Linked DNA regions of Homo sapiens: all the other regions are linked to region 2. Evidence: promoter capture Hi-C in 16 types of primary human blood cells and fetal thymus (Javierre and others, 2016). All regions are on one chromosome and are shown on one strand. The core of a region is centred on a gene start or on the middle of the fragment in contact, and the rest is flanking DNA. Distances in the headings are between cores, read along the strand shown. Region 1 has its middle 26 kb from the start of GRTP1. Region 2 holds the start of MCF2L-AS1 (MCF2L antisense RNA 1). Region 3 overlaps CUL4A (cullin 4A). Region 4 overlaps ADPRHL1 (ADP-ribosylhydrolase like 1).

Region 1 (3,535 bases), core at 819-3,318, 420 kb before region 2:
GGCCCACCAAGCCAGAAATGTGTCCAAGAAAAGCTCAAGGAGGAAAGAGAGTCAACCAAATTCACTTTCGGAGCACCTCCCACAGTAGAGAGGTTACGCGGGCTACAAAATTGTATGAAAACCTCCCTACCCTGGAACTTGGGTGAAGCTTGAGGACACCATGCTGAGTGAAATTAGCCAGACACAGAAGGACAAATTCTGTGGGATCCCACTTACGTAAGGGTGACAAGAAGGAAGAGGCTGAGGTGCAAATTATGATTTAAAGAGTTGACTTGAGCCAAGGTGAGGACAGCTGCCTGGGAGACTCGAGTGGCCTTGGATATGAGCCCCATTAGGCCTTTATTACAATCAGGATTTTAAAGGCAAAAAGGGGAACAGGGAGTGGCTGATACAAAGTTGTTTTTCAGGAATTCTTGTTGGTTGACAGAAATAACATTGATTAGTGATGGGCTGTGCACCGTTGAGCTGCAGGGTGTGGGTTGCAGGGTGGGGGATGGCATTGTTAGGTTAATTCACAGCTAGCAAGTTCCAAGACATCAACACACAGCTCAATGTGTTGGAGGGAGATATCTGCAGTTGTTACCAGACAGGGGTCCCGATCCAGACCCCCAGAGGGCGTTCTTGGATCTCGCGCAAGAAAGAATTCAGAGCGAGTCCATAGAGACAAGTGAAACCAGTTTATTAAGAAAATAAAGAAATAAAGAATGGCTACTCCATAGGCGAGCAGCTGAGGGCTGCTGGTTGCCCATTTTTATGGTGATTTCTTGATGATATGCTAAACAAGGGGTGGATTATTCATGCTCCCCTTTTTAGACCATATAGGGTAACTTCCTGACGTTGCCATGGCATCTGTAAACTGTCACGGAGCTGGTGGGAGTGTAGCAGTGAGGATGACCAGAGGTCACTCTTGTGGCCATTTTGGTTTTGGTGGGTTTGGCCGGCTTCTTTGCTGCAACCTGTCTTATCAGCAAGGTCTTTATGATCTATATCTTGTGCCAATCTCCTATCTCATCCTGTGACTTAGAATGTCTCACTTCCTGGGAATGCCGTCCAATAGGTCTCAGCCTCATTTTACCCAGCTCCTACTCAAGATGGAGTTGCTCTGGTTCAAACATGCCTGACATTTTCTCTTTCCCTTTTATAAGAGAACCCTTAATCCTAAGAGTTGCAGGGGGATGAAGATCCATCTTCTGTAACTTCTTCAGGCTGAATAGGGGCGATGACATTCCTGCCTAACTATTAGGGTCCCTTGTGTTCAGGGTAGAGAGGAGCACAGTCAGAAGGCATCAGTGTGGTGAGGGCTATTCATAACTCTTAAGTTCCAACAAAAGGTGATATCTGGGCAATTAATAAGTGTTCAGTTTAAGAAAACATTGAGCAAGTTTATTTTGCATACCTACACAGAGTACAACAACAATATATTCCACAATAGTAAAGCAAAATAAGTACAATTATTCCAAGTAAACTAAATTAGAAGGCTTTTCATGAACTGGGCAACTATTGGAACCAAGATGATGTGAGGTTGCTAGCCAATTCTAGTGTGCCCAGAATTAGAATATTGATTCAGATTTTTACATTACCCATCCCTCTTATTTCTTCTGAGCAGCAGTCAGAGTTCACTGGTTGGTTCACAGGAATAAGCAAGGTTAGCCTAAATTCCAGAAGCAAATCTAAAAACAACTGATGAGACTAGAATTTAAAAACAACATACCACAGTTCCTGAAACATAATATTTCTCTCTCTAGTTTCCCATTTTTACTAAAGGCAAATCATGGTAAGACTGATTTACTTTATTATACTTGGCCTGATTATTTGTATAAAGGGCAGCAAGAATATTTTTCACATAGGTTCTTTTTAAATTGGCTTTGATGGAACTCTGTTCCGTAGAAGGAATCTTAGCTAAGACTCTTTTAGAACTGAGCCCCGCCATGGGTTTGTACCCTCAAATACCTGTAAGTTGAGTAAATTTCTCTCCTCTTGAGTTTCCAAGATAACTTGGGGCTCCTGGGCCTGTGAGAAAGTGACTTTTTTTTTTTTTGAGACCGAATCTCGCTCTGTTGCCCAGGCTGGAGTGCAGTGGCATGATCTCTGCTCACTGCAAGCTCCGCCCCCCCGGGTTCATGCCATTCTCCTGCCTCAGCCTCCTGAATAGGTGGGACTACAGGTGCCCGCCACCATGCCCCGCTAATTTTTTGTATTTTTAGTAGAGACAGGGTTTCACCATCTTAGCCAAGATGGTCTCAATCTCCTGACCTCATGATCCACCCGCCTCAGCCTCTCAAAGTGCTGGGATTACAGGCATGAGCCACCGCACCCAGCATAAAGTGACATTCTTTACTTACCACGGGTCAGGAACTCTGTATAAGGACTGTGGAGAGAACGTATCAGGTCAGTTTTCCCAAGGGGCTTTATCAGCTCTATAAGTCACGTTTAATTTCTTAAAGGAAAACACATCATTCTAGTCAAATCCTTGGTAAAATAAGCAGTTTCTCCAATTGTGTCCTGTTGCAAAAGAAAACAGATTCCTGGCCAGGCACAGTGGCTCACACCTGTAATCCCAGCGCTTTGGGAGGCCGAGGCAGGCAGACCACCTGAGGTCAAGAGTTCAAGACCAGCCTGGCCAACATGGTGAAACCTCATCTCTACTACAAATACAAAAATTAGCCAGGTGTGGTGGCTGGCACCTGTAATCCCAGCTACTTGGGAGGCAGAGACAGGAGAATTGCTTGAACCTGGGAGGCGGAGGTTGCAGTGAGCCGAGATCATACCATTGCACTCCAGCCTGGGCAACAGAGCAAGACTCTGTCTCAAAAAAAAAAAAAAAAAAGAAAACAGATTCTTATTGCACTTATGCAAATAGCTATATTGCCATAAATTAAGAATACTCACAACTAGTTCCCAAATTTTGGAGAAATTAGGTAGAGAGAAACAAATATGCTCCAAATTTTATTCATACAAGTATACTTATTCAATTGTTAAAAGCTATAACTCGCTCAAAAGTTTCCTTGATTCTGAAAAACAAAACAAAGGATCAGCAATATTTTAAGCAAAAAGTTAAAAAGATTACTTCTGGTTTCTATTAGTTTAGTCCATGTAGTTAACTTCTGTTTGATATTCATGGACATTTCAGCTCTCCATAAGAATTCTAAAAGTTTTTTCCTCTATTCTGATGTCACCATCACCAGTTATCGGAAACCTGCACTCAAGAACATCTGTCAAAGTCCTGTAGCTGATTATAAACCACCTTCTAAAGAGGACCAAAACAAGACAACCATTGTTTGTGGATGACAAAACATCTTCGGACAGCCATCATTAAAGCCACAACTGATAAGGAAATTTGATTACTTCTGTGGCATACAAAATTTTACATAACAATTATATCTATTAATAACATACACTAAATCATGTGAGAATTATAGGAGTTTTAAAAGTAATTTTGGAACACATACCAATAACACATTTATATATACAAATACAGCCCAAAGAAAACCAAATACCATTTTATATTTGACAATGCTTCCTGTAAGATTCTTGT
Region 2 (3,454 bases), core at 516-3,015:
AGACCATCCCATACGATGGTGCTTATGCTGATTTAATCACTGGTTCACTCTCAGAATCCATCGGGGTGGGCAGAGAAAGAGAACCACACCCAAACCAAGCAACTGACATTTTAATCTCCCAGGCAAGTACTAGTTAGACAACTAGTAATGGCATATATGACATAACATATGGCAACATCAGGCAAAACACTTGGCAACTTACTTTTAATGATATATCATTATTTCCTCTTCATTTCAAGGAAAACGAGTTAAGGATGCCTCTCCCTTCTGCATAACACAGCCTGAGAACTCAGATGCGACCGCCTGAAAGCCACGGCCAGATGCAAGCTGTCAGCCCAGTCTCTGCTTACACCTAAAAGAATCGATCTGAACTACTCTTCAAAGCTTATTTGAAGTAATATTTCGATTAATACTGAAAATGAACGTCCAGTCCACTCTTTACCCATACCGTCTCAAACATCTGTCTTAGGTTTAAATTGCATTTAATGAAGAAAAGAACCACCTGATTAGTCCAGGTTTTTTCATCCTCAAAACGAGCTTCCAGGTAGCTTCACCATCCCTACCCCTGGCTCTGAAACCCCAAGCTCTGAAAGCCCTTGGCTCAGATCATTCTCCATTCGCAATGCATTCTCCATTGCGAGGGCTGCGGACAGGCAGGTTGATGGGCAGACTTCAGACACACAAATGGCTCCGCATGCAGACCCAGCAACCCTGAGAGAGCCAGTGTCACCAACGTGCAGTCATTTTGACTATCCCGGGCAGCATACGATCGCCGACAGCCTCTGAAAACACACCAGCTGCCAACCAGTGCCCCCCATGTCACAGCTACCACGGCTAGAAAGGAACACGAGGGCGGCTTACAAAAATCAGACGCATTTCCCCACATTTCAGCCCATGATGTCAAGCTTAAGCACAGATCACTGACGGCCAGCAGCTCCTCCTACCCGTGTGCTTGGAAACCGCATTTAATCTCTGCACCATTTCTTCCAAGGCCATCTCTTCAGTCCTCAGCCAAAACCTCATCCTCCGACACAACAAAAATGATCCTGGCAGATCCGCTTCCTCCGCACGGGGGGCGCCTGCGGGTGGGGCCGTGCGAGTGCGGAGGGGGCGCGGCGGAGGCGGGGAGGGGGCCACGGCAGCGCTTTCAGCCTCCAGCCGCCGCCTCCCTGCCCAGGATTGGTTCCGCGCCACCGGGAGGGGGGCGCGCGCTGCGCCGCGGGGGGCGGGGGGCGGCTCGGCGGAAGCGGAAGCGGCGCGCGCCCGCCCCGGTGTGTCACCACCGCGGGTCACCTGGGAGTCCTGTGAGTGCACCGCCGGGGTCACCTGGGAGCCCCGCGTGTCACCGCCGCGGTCGTCGGGGAGCCCCGGGGCTCACCAACGAGGTCACCTGGGAGCCCCGCGGGTCACCGCCGCGGTCACCTGGAAGTGTCACCTGTGTCACTAGGTCACCTAGTGTATCACACAGGTCACCTAGAAATTCGTGTCACCGCCAAGGTCACCTAGAAATTCGTGTCACCGCCGAGGTCCCCTGGGAGCCCCGCGGGTGCCGCACAAGTGCCCCCGCCCTTCCCCCCGGTTCCGGGTCTCCACGCCCTCCTGGTTTGCGGGCAGCCGCGAAGCCGCGAGTGGACCGAGCGAGTGCAGCTGCCTCCGCGGGGCCGCGCCTGGCCGCCGCCTCCCTTTACCTCCGGCCGCCCCGTGGCAGGTGTAGAAGCTGCAGAGGCCGCAGCAGCCCAGCGCGCCCCTTCCGTGTGGCCGCATGCCACCCGCGCCGCGCCCAGGTAAGCAGGTCCGTGGGTCGCTGGGTCCATGCGTGGGTCCGTGGCTGGCCGGGGATGGACCAGCCCCTCCCCGCAGGGGCATCGCCTGCCCAAGGACGCAGGACCCAGTGAGGGAAGCGCGCGCTGCAGGCACGGGGCTCTCCACCCTCGCCATGGTTGGCACCAAGCCACACTGTGCACTCGACACACGCAGCGTCCTGGCTGCCACCTGCAGATTCCAGCTCGTGTCTATGCAGGGCCATGGCCGCCATCACAGGGCCATATGCAAGAAACTCTCTGAGCTCTCCTCGCCCAAAACCGCAGCTATCCTTTTGTGGTTTGGTATTATAGGTAACATGCCCTTCCTTAAAGAAACAGTATTTCAGGCCTGTAGTCCCAGCTACTCCGGAGGCCGAGGCAGAAGCTGAGGCAGAAGCAGGAGGATCATTTGAGCCCAGAAGTTTGAGCCTGGGCAATGTAGCAAGACCCCCCCCCCCACCTCACTCCCCAATCAGTTAAAAGAGAGAGAGAGAGAGAGAGAATTCCAGCAGGAAGAAGTACACATTTCCACGAATGGTTTGGGAATTCAAGCATCATATGGCTGAGGTTTGAACTACAGCTCATGCCAATAACATGTGCACATGCGCCAGCATTCCAGCGTCCAACAGAGCATGCGTGCACCATTCCAGCATCCGGCAACAATGCACCAGCATTCCAGCGTCCAACAGAGCATCCGTGTACCATTCCGGCATTTGGCAACAATGCACCAGCATTCCAGAGTCCAACAGGGCATGCGTGCACCATTCCAGCATCCGGCAACAATGCACCAGCATTCCAGCGTCCAACAGAGCGTGCGTGCACCATTCCAGCATCCGGCAACAATGCACCAGCATTCCAGCGTCCAAAAGAGCATCCGGCAACATCCCGGTGTCCAGTGGCACATGTGCACCTGGACGTTCCAGTGTGGTGAGCTTTCAGGCACGGAGCAAGGCCAAAGGGATAAAAAGATGAAGGTGACGCAGTACTCCCCCTTATAGTGCCTACAGGCCTTATAGGCCAGACAGATCTGGAAATAAATAATTCATAATAAAAAATAATTACAGAATAAGAGGCATAATAACCAGATAGAAAGTATTGAATAAATCTGTAAGAAATGGCTGCTTTGTTTTTGTTTTTGTTTAACATGAGAAACGTATTGAGTATCAGCAGTTTCACTTGGTTCTACAGAATCTCTTTGGAGACCAGTGAAAGGAGAACTCTGGAAAGGCCTCAGAGTGGATGGGAGCCTCTCCCTCTGTGGACAAGCGTTCCCTGGGCTGCCCAGGGTGCCTACGGCGGCACAATTGCTACCTCCTGTCTACACATGGTCTGCAAAAAGTGCCCTCAAATGGGTCTGCTCCTCTCATTCCCTGTCAGTTCAGGGAACCTTCACCACTCCCCATCCCCCACCGCCCCCCCACCCCAACCCTGCCCCTCCAGCTTCAGGGAAAGCCTGTCATCAGGCAGAAGGGTCCTGAAATGCAGGCCCTGCCCTTTCCACTAGTCTAAGGCACAACACCCTCCCTGGTCCTCAGCCCACACGGCCCTAGGCCACACTCCCTCTGAGCACCTGCCCTCTTCTCCCGGCCGCTCTCCTGGCATGCAGGTGCCCTCCAGCCTGCCCAGCCTTGGGCTGCGTCAGGATCTACCGA
Region 3 (3,532 bases), core at 879-3,378, 270 kb before region 2:
ACAGTGTCTCAGCTGGGGTACTGACATGGCAGCGCACCCGTCTTTTTCACATGGCCCAGTTTACTCGTAACTCATCTGGGTGTGCACATCTAGACCTCGGCCGAAACCCCGACTGTTCCCGCAGAAGGCTACCTCCTGGGGCCTTTTATAACCACACACCCTGCCCCATCCCTACACCCTGGTAACTTTTCATCTATCCTCCATTTCTAAATTTTGTCATTTCCAAAATGTTATGCAATAACACGTTAAGTATCTGTGATTGGCTTTTCTTTTTTTCCTCTTAGTGTAATTCTCTGGAAATTTTGTTTATCTTTTCATTATGGGATTTAAGAATAGTCACCAGCAAGCAAAAACACAGACTTTTGCTAAATGTTCACCATTTAAGCTGGAAAATTCATGCTAGGCAACTGGCACATCCTGAAAACACGAGCTATCTGTGAAGGGGCCCTGATGTCTGCCTCAGTTCTCCTGTTTCTGTGAGGGGCATCTGGAGAATGGCTTCTCATTAGAGGGTCTTCAGCAGGTTTCTTGGGCTGGGCAACTCTGGCCCTCTGGGCAGGTGATTCTTTGTGGTGAGGGCTGCCTTGTGCATTCAGCAGCACCCCTGGTGCTGCCCAGCAAAGCAAGCCGCACCCTCTCTGTTCAGACAGCCACAAATGTCTCCAGACATCAACAAATGTCCCCTTGGTGGGGTGGTGCCCTGGGCCGAGAGCCCCTAGTCTTCAGGGAGGTCCTATGTCAGCACCAAAGGGCCGTTCTCCTGCACAGGACATGTGAAAACTCAGGGTACTGCCCAAGAAGCCACTCTACGACGGGTTGGACTGGGCTTGTTAGGGATGCCAAAGAAATGCTTTCGAAACATGAAAGTGAAAGTTTAAGTAATAAATCCTAAATTTGGACCGTTAAGAAATAAAGTTTATAAAGCAAACTGATATGCCAAATATATAATAGTTCTCCCTGAGGAAAGGGCATGAGGAGATCATGTCTGACAAGCAGATTTACAAAAATGATTACTTTAGGAAAAATCATGATTTAGAATTAAACCAATATTTATGCTGATGAAGAAGAGCAAAACAGTTGTTCTTTAAGTTATACTTTCTACCTTGATGGTGCTAATCACTGCTGGTGTTATCCTAAAAAGCAAATTCACACTGGTGATTGGGAAGCAGATGGAAGCCTACTGTCCACCCTATCATCTGTGATGAAAATGCAGACGGGCCCTCCAGCAGCCCAGTTCCCTTTGCCAGGGCACACTAGGCGTTCTCAGGAGGGGCTCTGCTCCCTGCAGGGAATGCCCACGCCCGCGGCCTCAAAACCCCGCCAGTACCTTGATGTACTCGCTCCAGTGCTGCAGCAGCGCCTGCTGCCCGCCCCTCACCCGGCTGAACAGCTGGTACATCTGTGCGAGGTCCGGCACTCTGTTCTCATCCAGTAAGTGGTCGAGCCCTGAGATGTGCAGTACACGTCAGCAGAGTACAGCATGGGCAGCATTAACAACAACTCAACTAGAATACAGCGTGCACCAGAAGAACGTCAATACACCGCTTAGAAATTGGGCGGGTCTCCACATCGCTGCCTCTACATGAGCAGGTTGATCTGGTTAAATATGTGAGATGGATCCTATTAGGTGAACCTCATTTTCTCTGAGTATGTTGGAAGATGTATTATTTACTTCTTTATGTCATTGAAGCCCTCTTATTTCACTTAAGTTAGCAAGTCAGAAAATCCAGTTTACACCAACTATTTAACCTGGGAGGTTCATGTTCTCAATCTACTTCTGATTTAGTCCATCGGCCAGACAATGTAAAAGGACAAGCTATCAAATCTAATTTATAGTGGATTAAATTTATTCACACCTATAGTAAACTATAAGAGAAAAACATCATCGGATATTTTGAAGTGTTTAACACAGCATTTAAAAAAGCTTTCAGTGTTTTAGATTTTTAATATTTATAACGGTTTTCTGAAACCATACCTCAATGAGAAAAACTCTCATAGATTTTCTAAATACTTGCTTTATGATAACTACTGAGAGGCAGCCAGGTTAAAGCATAAAATGGTGAACAGTCATACAATTCACAAAGTCTCAGATTCTGCCTACACTGGGCACGATGTTCACACAAACGAGGAGGTTTAAAGCTGTGCGCAAACACATGGTGGGGCTATAATTACAATCCTCACCTAGAGCTCCAAATGTTTATTTCTCTCAATTACATTCTGATCTACTGACACAAACTTTTTATACTTTATTTTACTAAAACCCATGTCTTAAGAATTCAAAAGTATCTTTTTAATTTTTAAAATATTTCTAATAAAATTTAGGGTAAGCTTTTACATATATAATTTACCATTTTCTTTAAATAATTTTGCTTAACAAAGTATGCACTGGAACAATTTATGCAAATTTCTACTATTTACTTGAAATCTTTTTTCTCTTTTTTTTTTGAGACAGGTCTCTTGCTTTGTCACCCAGGTTTTTGTAGTTTTGTAGCCTTAACCCCCTGGGCCAAAGTGATCCTCCCACCTCACCCTCCTGAGTAGCTGGTACCCTAGGCATGCACCACCTGTGGCTTTAAAAAAAAATTTTATTTTTATTTTTTTGGTAGAGACAGGGTCTCTCTTTGTTGCCCAGGCTGGTCGTGAATTCTTGGGCTCAAGTGATCCAAAGTGATACTTTGGCCTCCCAAAGTGCTGATGTCACAGGTATGGGCCACTATGCCTGGCCTTTTTTCTTATAAAGTGACTCCTTTCATAAAAACACCTGACACAAATTCTGAATGCATTTGTTTTTAGGTGGATAGGTGATGTGTAGGTTTCAGTGTGGAATAAGCAGAAACATCATAACCAGATTGGACCCGTGACTCTCAGCTCACAAGCAATGTGATTCCAGGCACCAACATCTGGCTGTTTTAAGCCCTGGTTTTCTTATTTGTAGAATGGGGATAATGATTTCACAGAATTGCTTGAAAAGATATTCACATCAAGTGGAGTTGTTTGTAACAGGAGATGCTCAATCATGTTAATTCTCCTCCCTTTTGGTTTTATTCTGGTTTCACTTAAGTATCTCATTAGCCATAATACTATTATCTGACAATGTAGAACCCAAAGCAGAATATATTTGAATACCATTTAGGGCCTTCTCAAAATTAAACTTTAAGGTTTCCAATGGCTTGAAAAAAGTCTCGTATTTTCCAAATACATTTAAAATGACTTTCAGAAGGTAACATTGTTTCAAATGGTAACAGTGAAATGTGCCAGTAAGTACTAAAGTGTTACAAAGGTTAGACTGCTCATTGTAATTTTCATAGAATTCAGCACACTTTGAAGCCTAGAAAAAACAGCAATAAACAAAGATCGAGGTAAGACATCAGCATCAATTTTAAAGGTGCAGGCTGCTAGAAGCCACCTTCCTATGGCCAGGTACTGCCACCACTTGGGGAGAAGCGGACGTGAAGGCCGCGCCGTCAGCACTAGAACACATGCTCTTCTCTTCCAGAAAACCAGGAGAAAAGTATACTCTGCTTAAGCAGAC
Region 4 (3,575 bases), core at 711-3,210, 440 kb before region 2:
GTGTCGCCCTCCCTGATCTTCATGGCTTCAGGGGAAAATGGGCACAGAACAAGCAGCCATAAAAACAGAAGAGGCTGAGCTGGGCATGGTGGCTCATGCCTGTAATCCCAGCACTTTGGGAGGCTGAGGGGCATGGATCATGAGGTCAGGAGTTCGAAACCAGCCTAGCCAACATGGTGAAACCTCATCTCTAAAAAAATACAAAAATTAGCTGGGCGTGGTGGCGGGCCCCTGTAATCCCAGCTACTTGGGAGGCTGAGGCAGGAGAATGGCTTGAACCCGGGAGGCGGAGCTTGCAGTGAGCCGAGATCACGCCATTGCACTCCAGCCTGAGTGACAGAGAAAGACTCCATCTAAAAAAAAAAAAAAACAGAAAACAGAAGACCCCTGCTCAGCACACTCAGGGAGATGTGCAGAGGCACGTGGCCCTGCCCCTGGAAGAGGAGCATTGGCACCACAGCGACAAGAGCAGTTCCACAGGCACAGATGGAGCCACAGCCAGGATGTGTGCCCCCAGACAGGCCTGTAGTGCCCTGAGAGCATATCGGGGAGGCCGGGACTGAGCTGTAGAGGGGAGGGAAGCCGGGGGCTGAGCCGCAGAGGGCAGGGAGGCTGGGGACTGAGGGAGGGAGGGTGGGGGCCAATCTGCCAAGGGGAGGAAGGGGGGGCGGCTCCAGGCTCATCCGCAGAGGGGCAGGAAATGGCAGTGCAGGCCTCTGGTGTTGATGGAGGCCCAGGACATGTTTTCTAAGCGCTGTTGGCCGAGGGCATCCAAGTGTCCCTGTCAGAAACATGTGGAGGCTGGCACAGGGATGTGTGTGACATGGCTGAGGCTGGTCCGTGTTCTGAGCAGGCTCCTGGAACAGCCAGACAGTTGCAGGCCCAGCTGCCACGTGAAACCGGCCCTGCCCTTCTCTCAGAGGAGGAAACTGCGGCTGAGGGTGTTCCCTGCCGCAGGGCCAGGCTCGGGTGAGCCCAGCACAGCCACTGACTGGGCAGAACAGTGACCTCCAGGCCCTGCTGGCCAGAAAGTCCCCAGCAAAGAACCTGCCAACAGGGGCTGCTGTCCATATCATGGTGGGCCCGGGTGTGTCTCCTGCGCTGTGATGGCCTCTAGTCTCATTGTATTTTCAAACGACCTCTCTGGCTGGCCAGAGCCACCAACAACTAAATTAGGAAAGCCGGGCACCCTGCTGTTTATATTGGCCCCTGGGAGGAAGACATTCCATTCCCTGTGGGTTCTGCAGCTTGTCCAAGTGCTGAGGGGACGCTGAGGGAGGCCCGGTCTCGCCCCGCACTGCTGGGCGGGCAGCGGTCACACAGGGCAGCCCAGACTCCGCCAGCGCAGCTCTGACCGGGGGCCTTTTCAGGAGGCTTTGAGGGGTGGGGCTGACGGCCCAAGGGGCAGCACTGGCTCCAGCGCATGAGGACGCGTTCACTCAGCAGCAAGGTGTGCAGCAGGGGTGGGAAAGGGCGAGAGGCCCACCTTCACAGCAAGTGAAGGCCCCGATCACAGGGCGCCTCGGGAGACACGCAGAGCCCCACGCGGGAGTCGCCGAAAGTCCTGGGCCCCCCTCTCAGTCCATGACTTGGGGGCGTTCCTGGCGTCCACGCTGTTCCCCTTTGTGGGGACATAGAGGTCTGTGTGGGTCACCGTGGGGCTCACAGAGCTGGGCCTCTGGGAAAGGCTCCCTGAGGTGGGGGCATCTGAGCCGGGTTGTGAAGGATGAATAGGAGCTCGTCAGGGAGGCAGCGAGGCTGTTCCAGGCTGAAGGGCACAGCGAGGTTGGGCGTGGAGTGGACAAACAGGGTGGAGGCTGGAGCTGGCAGAAAAGGGGGTGGCCAGGAGAGAAACAGGGTTGTGCAGTGGGTGAACCGAGTTCTGCGAGGCGCTGTTGGCGGTGGGTGAACCGAGCTCTGCGAGGAGCTGTTGGCGGTGGGTGAACCGAGCTCTGCGGGGCGCTGTTGGCGGTGGGTGAACCGAGCTCTGCGGGGCGCTGTTGGCGGTGGGTGAACCGAGCTCTGCGGGGCGCTGTTGGCGGTGGGTGAACCGAGCTCTGCGGGGCGCTGTTGGCGGTGGGTGAACCGAGCTCTGCGGGGCACTGTTGGCGGTGGGTGAACCGAGTTCTGCGGGGTGCTGTTGGCGGTGGGTGAACCGAGCTCTGCGGGGCGCTGTTGGCGGTGGGTGAACCGAGCTCTGCGGGGCGCTGTTGGCGGTGGGTGAACCGAGTTCTGCGGGGTGCTGTTGGCGGTGGGTGAACCGAGTTCTGCGGGGCGCTGTTGGCGGTGGGTGAACCGAGCTCCGCGGGGCACTGTTGGCGGTGGGTGAACTGAGCCTCCGGGGCACTGTTGGCGGTGGGTGAACCGAGCCTCCACGGGGGCTGTTCGCCACCCACGGGTCTTCTGCCAGCCCGCCCGGCTGTGCCCAACGCTGCTCTGGACTCGGGAAAGTAGAGACCAGAACCAACAGGGGTCCCGCCCATGCAGGGGCTCTGCTCTAGTGGGGAGCTGGGCAGAAACAGGGGTGACTTGTTGAAAAGTGCACTCGGATCTTAGAAAATTATAGAGCTGTGGCTGGGCGCGGTGGCTCACGCCTGTCATCCCAGCACTTTGGGAGGCCGAGGCAGGCGGATCACGAGGTCAGGAGATCGAGACCATCCTGGCTAACATGGTGAAACCCCGTCTCTACTAAAAAATACAAAAAATTAGCCGGGCGTGGTGGCGGGCGCCTGTAGTCCCAGCTACTCGGGAGGCTGAGGCAGGAGAATGCTGTGAACCTGGGAGGCGGAGCTTGCAGTGAGTCGAGATCGCGCCACTGCAGTCCAGCCTGGGCGACAGAGCAAGACTCCGTCCCAAAAAAAAAGCAAATTATAGTGCTGTGACAGTAGTCACCCGGGATGTGCCAGCAGCAGCAGCACACGCTGAGCTGGGGGCTCCCAGAATCCCCCAACCAGTGAAACCCAGAGCACAGAACATGCTGAGCCGGGAGTAGACCCCGGAAGAAGGAACCACCCGCAGGTTCAAGGAACCCAAAGACAGCAGCACCTCTGGGGCTACCACGAGGGGCGGGGACCAGAGAGGGTGAGCGCAATAGTGGGCGGTGGGCGCAGGACTTTGTGACGAGAAGGGGCAGCCCAGGGGAATGGCAGGACAGCAGGGAGCAGGGGAGTGGCCAGGCCAGACCCAGGGAGGAACTTGGTTAATGATGATTGCAAAACACAAAGGCTCTGTGAAGGGGGCTGTGGAAACCCCTCTCGCTCCCGCCAAGGGCGTCATCCTGAACCGCGGACGCCTCCGACAGCCACAGGTCCATGGCTGAGGACACCTCAGCAAGGCGGGGCTCACCCCAAAGAGGACTTTGTAGCTCTGGCCGAATCCCCTAATCCTCAGCCAATAAACCCAGAAGAGCATCCTGATCTCTGTGAGTGAAAACGTGTCTCAGATGATCACGCTGCGGGGTGAAAGCCGGCTGTGACAGCTGAAGAGCTGGACCGGGTGGCCAAGTACGTCCTCCACGCTCACCGCTGGTTGCTGGCCAGGTCTTGATGACACGCTGACCTCATAAGTGGTTACAG

What was found. Contacts are between HindIII fragments. The CHiCAGO score rates a contact against its expected background, and 5 or more counts as called.
Region 1: a fragment that was not itself captured here is called in contact with the fragment with the promoter of MCF2L-AS1 in region 2 in 4 of 17 cell types (naive CD8 T cells, total CD8 T cells, total CD4 T cells and 1 more); the score reaches 8.0 in naive CD8 T cells.
Region 3: a contact is called between a fragment that was not itself captured here and the fragment with the promoter of MCF2L-AS1 in region 2, in 1 of 17 cell types (naive CD8 T cells). The highest score is 5.5, in naive CD8 T cells.
Region 4: a contact is called between a fragment that was not itself captured here and the fragment with the promoter of MCF2L-AS1 in region 2, in 2 of 17 cell types (M1 macrophages and M2 macrophages). The highest score is 5.8, in M1 macrophages.

What each region holds. Positions count from the first base shown.
Region 1 is chr13:113,388,352-113,391,886 of GRCh38, reverse strand. No RefSeq gene overlaps it. Among named protein-coding and RNA genes, the nearest start is that of GRTP1, 26 kb to the right of the region's middle. The HindIII fragment of the contact is 3,835 bases long and covers 151-3,535 here.
Region 2 is chr13:112,966,949-112,970,402 of GRCh38, reverse strand. MCF2L-AS1 (MCF2L antisense RNA 1) reads left to right here and starts at 1,765. Exons shown (of 1, transcript NR_034002.1): 1 at 1,765-2,919. MCF2L (MCF.2 cell line derived transforming sequence like) reads right to left here and starts at 1,189. Exons shown (of 30, transcript NM_001112732.3): 1 at 945-1,189. The coding sequence starts at 1,023. RefSeq lists a silencer at 1,254-1,313 and an enhancer at 1,515-2,034. The HindIII fragment of the contact is 5,254 bases long and covers 908-3,454 here.
Region 3 is chr13:113,237,347-113,240,878 of GRCh38, reverse strand. CUL4A (cullin 4A) reads right to left here. Exons shown (of 20, transcript NM_001008895.4): 10 at 1,328-1,446. Among named protein-coding and RNA genes, the nearest start is that of MIR8075, 24 kb to the left of the region's middle. The HindIII fragment of the contact is 404 bases long and covers 1,927-2,330 here.
Region 4 is chr13:113,411,475-113,415,049 of GRCh38, reverse strand. All of the region lies in intron 7 of ADPRHL1 (ADP-ribosylhydrolase like 1), which reads left to right. Among named protein-coding and RNA genes, the nearest start is that of ADPRHL1, 40 kb to the left of the region's middle. RefSeq lists an enhancer at 3,440-3,575. The HindIII fragment of the contact is 9,349 bases long and covers 1-3,575 here.